Regions from separate parts of the Homo sapiens genome. Here region 1 is linked to region 2. Evidence: promoter capture Hi-C in human tissues and cell types (Jung and others, 2019). All regions are on one chromosome and are shown on one strand. The core of a region is centred on a gene start or on the middle of the fragment in contact, and the rest is flanking DNA. Distances in the headings are between cores, read along the strand shown.

What was found. Contacts are between HindIII fragments. The study calls those that stand out against the background at their distance.
Region 1: a fragment that was not itself captured here is called in contact with the fragment with the promoter of CARD10 in region 2 in 1 of the 25 tissues and cell types used here (hippocampus).

What each region holds. Positions count from the first base shown.
Region 1 is chr22:37,078,394-37,081,093 of GRCh38, forward strand. The region is part of intron 10 of TMPRSS6 (transmembrane serine protease 6); the gene reads right to left. Among named protein-coding and RNA genes, the nearest start is that of KCTD17, 28 kb to the left of the region's middle. RefSeq lists an enhancer at 1,988-2,700. The HindIII fragment of the contact is 8,225 bases long and covers 1-2,700 here.
Region 2 is chr22:37,518,158-37,520,857 of GRCh38, forward strand. CARD10 (caspase recruitment domain family member 10) reads right to left here and starts at 1,258. Exons shown (of 20, transcript NM_014550.4): 1 at 809-1,258. The coding sequence starts at 1,043. The HindIII fragment of the contact is 30,090 bases long and covers 1-2,700 here.

The DNA.
Region 1 (2,700 bases), core at 77-2,576, 440 kb before region 2:
AGCAACCTTTCCCCAGGGCCTCACCGTGTACCCGGGAACCTGTCTGTCTGGGCAGTGTTTGGTTCTCACTCTGGAGGCCTGGAGCACGGGTAGAGGTGGTGGAATCCCTGGAACAAGCGTCTGCTTAGAAAGCGCCAGAGAGGAATTCAAGGCAGCGGCTGAAATCTAGTGGCCCAAGCGGAGTCACTCAGCGTAAAGACAATCTGTTTATGCACCATGTAGAAATTGCTTCATTGAGTCGCGAGCTAATTTCACATAATAATCCAGATTCCTGCTCCTTTAGAAGGAGAAGAGGAAGAGGAAGAGGAAGAGGAAGGAGGAGGCGGAGGAGAAGAAGAAGAAAAGATGAAGAGGAAGAAAGGAGAAAGAGAATGAGGAGAAGGAGGAGGAGAAGAAGAAGGAGGAGGAGGAAGAGGAGAAGGAGAAGAAGAAGAAAGAGGAGGAGGAGAAGGAAGAGAAGGAGAAGAAGGAGAAGAGGAAGGGAGAAGAAGGGAAAAGGAGAATAAGGAAGAAGAAAGAAGAAAGAGAAAGAAGAGGAAGAAGGAGAAGGAGAAGGAGAAAAAGAGAAAGAAAGAAAGAAAAAGAAAGAAAGAAAGAAAGAAAGAAAGAAAGAAAGAAAGAAAGAGAAAGAGAGAAAGAAAGAAAAGCCCCGAAAACACCACTGGACTACCCTACCCCCCATCATAGACTCTAGCCCTGGCCTGGCCCCTTGGCCCATCTGAGTTTTCTGTTTCTGCTGCAGAACTCTCTGGGGGAGGGTGCACATTCTCTGGCTCTCCAGTGCCTCCCGTCCAACAAGTGCTCCCCTCTAGCCCTCTCCAAGAAGCACCAGAAGCCTGACTGCTGCGATGCCTGCCAGTTCATCTTGGCTACAAAGTACTGAGTGTCTGAAGGCACATTTTTGCACCGTGTGGCCTGCCTTGCTTCCTCACCTCTCTGGATATGGGGAATATTTCCTTCTTGCCTCATCCAGGAGGTAGACAGGGACCCTGTCAGGATGTACTGCCTGGAGGGATAGATGCATGGATGGATGGATGGATGGATGGAAGGGTGGGGAGAACACAAGAAGGAAGAAGGAAAGAAGGGTGCGTGGGTGGATGAATGCACACCCCCGTGCCCTTACCTACAGACAGATTAAAGGGGAAGGAGGGTCACAGAAGGCAAGTGCTGAAGAGGGGAGGAGAGCAGCACCTGGCATTGCCAGAGCTCTAGACCTGGGGCTGCAGAGCTGAATTGGCAGCCTGGCTTTGCCCCAGGAACAAGCTGTGTGACCTTGGGTCACCCTCAGCAAGCTTTAGTTTTCACATTTGTAAAACAGGGGTGATCGTATCTCCCTTGTGGCATGGTTTAAGGCATGCATAGGAAATGACTTCTTTGAAGCACTTGCTGACGTCAGGCTGTGAGCTCATGGAGGAAGCAGCTTGCACTCTCCTGCACGGCCAGCCCAGCTCAGGTCAGCCACACTGAAGTTCCTACTAAGTGTCTGTGGCTGCCGCCTGTGCTGGCCACTAGCGCTCCGGAGAACACAAGGGCCACCCCATAGCCAGGCCAGGCCGGGTCGGGGGTGGCTCCAGCTGGCCTAGGGAACCCATGGTTCTGCCTGTCCCCACTGGCTGGGAGTGAGTGGAAATGGTGGGGCGAATCACAAGAGAAGTGATGTCACAGGAGAGGAAGCTGGCAGGAGGCAGGTTCCCGGAAAGGGGGAAGCCCGTGCTTCGGTGGCAGCCCGTGAGAGTGGCTTCTGCGAAATGGAGCAGCCATGGCCAGATCTCACGGGCCAAGTCCCTCTACCACCCCCAGGCCACTCAAGGGCCTGAGGCCTCAGCTGGGCTCAAGTGGGCACCGGGAGAAGCTAGGTAGAAAGCAGGCAGGTCAGGGGTGAAGGAGGCACCACAGTCTCAGAGGAGTCAGGTGAAGTGCCTAAGGATGCTTAGTCCATGGGGGGCCCACCAGGCCAGCCTTTCCTCATCACTACGCTGGCACTTGAGGGTTAAGATACCCTCTCCCCTGACCCGCCCTCTCCATCAATGGGCATTCTGGGCCAAAGGGCTGTACCTCCCCCTCCCTAAAGTGCCTTGTCTGAAAATCTGCTCTTCCCTAGACCTCTCATGTCTTTGCCACCCACACAAGCAGATTTCCAACAAATGCTCATTCTAAGAATTTCTCAGCATCTACATGGGATGATCACTATCGCCCATGATCATAACTAGAGGGCACAGTGGCCCAGTGCGGATGGTTTGCAGGCGCCACCTCTGCCTTCCCTTCCACATTCATTCACACAGGAGGAGTCTGCGGGGAGGGGACAAGAGTCTGCCCCTGGGGACCCTGGACCCTTAATGAAAGTCTGAGAAGAAAGGGCTGGGACTTCCCAGGCCGCTCTGGAACTGGTGGGACAGCCACAGAAACTGTCGATCCCCCCACCCAGATGCCAGTGGGTTGGCTGGGGATGCCTTGGCTGAGGGAGTCACCAGCTGGCATGGGCCGCTAGAGGCTCAGAGGGAAGAATCGCACACGTGGACCACACACACATGCACGTACACGTGCACAGACATGCATGGATGTACGCACGCACACAGACATGCATCTGTGCACCCACGTGCACTCCAGATCAGGCTGCCTGGCCTTAACTCTGGCTCAAAGAGCTGGGTGACTTTGTGCAAATTACTTCATCTCTCTGTGTCTTGGGTGTCTCACTGGTCT
Region 2 (2,700 bases), core at 8-2,507:
AGGTGCCTGGTTGCTTCTGCCCCCACCATGCTCCAGGCCCACGTTCCCCAGATTTTTGAGCCAGTGACACACACAGGGGCCTGTCCCAACACATCAGGGAAGAGAAGAGAGCCATTCTGCCACAGCCAGGGGAGCACATTCCCTCATGACTCCTGGGCTCCCAGAGCTCCCCAACACCCCCCACAGACACAGATGCCGGCCCGCAAATGCAGCCTGCCTTTTCAATGGCACAGAGAAGCCCCCTCTATCCCCAGAAGCAAAGAAAATACTTCTCCCATTGGCCATGCCTGAAATTCCACCATTAAAGACCATTCCATCATGCCTTTTTGAGTTCTGGTTCAAAGGCACACCCTGTGGGAGTGGGGACCCACGTAAAGCTGAGACGGATCTTGACACTTGAAAAAGGACTCCCCCAGGAGTGTATGGTGCACAGAGGAGGGGACAGACAGAACTCGGAGATCAAAGAGCGCAGGAAAGGTGCCAAGTCCACCGGCTGTGACCGGGAGGTCCCAGGCCCAGCCGGCCCTGGCAGCCACATCCAACCTTCTGCTCTAATGTGGACCCAGGAAGTGGGAGAGAACCCCAAGAGACAAAACTCTGACCCCGGTGTGGGCAACGCGGACCGCCAAGGCGCAGTGGTGGGTGGGGAGGAGGCAGGCTGGTGGGCATACCCAGCCGGCCCACTCTACTGATGCGGAGACCGAGCCCCAGGGCAGCAGAGCCCTAGCTTCGCGCTACACGGCTGTGGGCGCTGCGCCCCAGGGCACGGCCGGCCCAGGTCGTGGCCCACTCGGGACCCGCGGCTCACCGGTGCGGTTGACGCGGCACGGGAAGCGGTAGGTGCTCAGCACCTCCTCCTCGTCCTGCTCGTCGATGACCCGGCACTGGCGCAGATACGGCGTGAGCTTGGCCGGGTTCAGGGCGCGAGCCAGCCGATGCCGGACGCCCTCGATTCGCTCCCACAGCGCGTCCTCCTCCGCCTCAGACCCCGAGCCGGCCCCGGCCTCCTCCTCGGCCTCCCCCGCCTCCGCCCGGCCCGGCATGGCCGTGTCCTCAGGGTCTGCGGGCAAGAGGCGCACGGGGGTCGACCAGGGCTCCCTAGGGCTAGATGTGCGGCCAAGCACCCCCGGGGCGTCGTCCGCAGACCCGCCGTCGGGGGCGCGCCCCGAGCTCCCCGCGACTCACCCCGCACGCTACAGTCGCCTCGGGCTCCCGGGTCCGCACTCGGGCGGCGGCTCCGCCGGCGCAGGGGGGCGGTGCCCGTGGCGCCCCCGGCTCCGCCCCCGTCCCCGCAGCCTCCTGGGCTGCCCGGGCCTCCCCACATTGCCGCCCGCCCCGGGTCGTGCGTCCGGCCCCCGGCCACCCCGCGCGTCCGTCTGCACGCCCTCCCTCCCGGCCGTCCGGCTGCGCCTCCCCCTGCTTCCTGTTTCCCGCCGGCTCTCCAGCCCGGCTCGGCGGGGTCCTGGCCGCCCGCCCACACCTGCCCGGCCTCTGGGCGGGGCGGGGGCGGGCAGGCGCGCTCACACCCCCCGCGCGCCGCGACACACCTTCCCCGGGCCACGCGCATCGCCTCCCCACGCCCACAGCGCGCCCGCCCGTGCGGGGCTAGCCGCTCACGCCCGGCGCAGCCCGCGGGCACTCAAGCTGGGCTTGCCCTTCTCGGGTCCCCACATGCACTGCGGGCGCGGGAGCTTCCCTGGAGCGCAGGACAGCCCCGCGGGGGACAGCAATGGGCAGAGGTCATGGGGGCTTTCTGCAAGATGGGGGTCTGAACCTGCAGGGCAGCACTGCCAACTCCCCTCTTACGCAAACTCCCGTGGCACTTGAGGACCAGGGACCCCACAATTCTCAAAGGGTATTCCTCCAGGTGTTGGTCCCAGAGATGCTGGGGGCGGGCTGTGACTAGCCATCCATACTCCCGCTCCTGCCTGGGAGGCCGGTGGTGTCTTACCATGATACTGGCCGAGTCTACACGGTATCTGCTGGTGCATGCGATACAGTCTCGCTATGCATTAGAAGCTGCCAGGTACCTGCTGCCAGGGAGGAACAGAGGAGGCACAACCGGTACAGGAAAGAGGTGTGAGCTCCCTAATCGCCTTCCACAACTTCTGAATTAGATGCCGTGGACATATGTATTACTTATCCAAAGAATTAAGGTTTCAATCAATAAAGGCTCTGAAAAGCCCTGCTTAAATTAAGGCCGGGGGCGGTGGCTCATGCCTGGAATCCCGACACTTTGGGAGACCGAGGCGAGTGGATCACCTGAGGTCAGGAGTTCGAGACCAGCCTGACCAATATGGCGAAACCCCATCTCTACTAAAAATATAAAAATTAGCTAGACGTGGTAGTGCGCGTCTGTAATCCCAGCTACTCGGGAGGCTGAGGCACGAGAATCGCTTGAACCCAGGAGGCGGAGGTTGCAGTGATATCGTGCCACTGCACTCCAGCAGCCCGGGCAACAGAATGAGACTCCCCCTCAAAAAAAAAAAAAAAAAAAAAAAAAGCCCCAGCAGTAAAGAAACAGATTTAACTTTATATATCCTGGTGTCCTTTTCCAAACTTAATTAACCACAGCCTTTTTTTGGTTTGCATTTGTTGTACATTTGTTTTTGTTTTGGGTGTCACCTGTTTACATGCAGAAGAAATGCTTTGGGAGAACTGAATTCTAGTGCAAATTCCTCAATTAACAAAGGAGGAAGC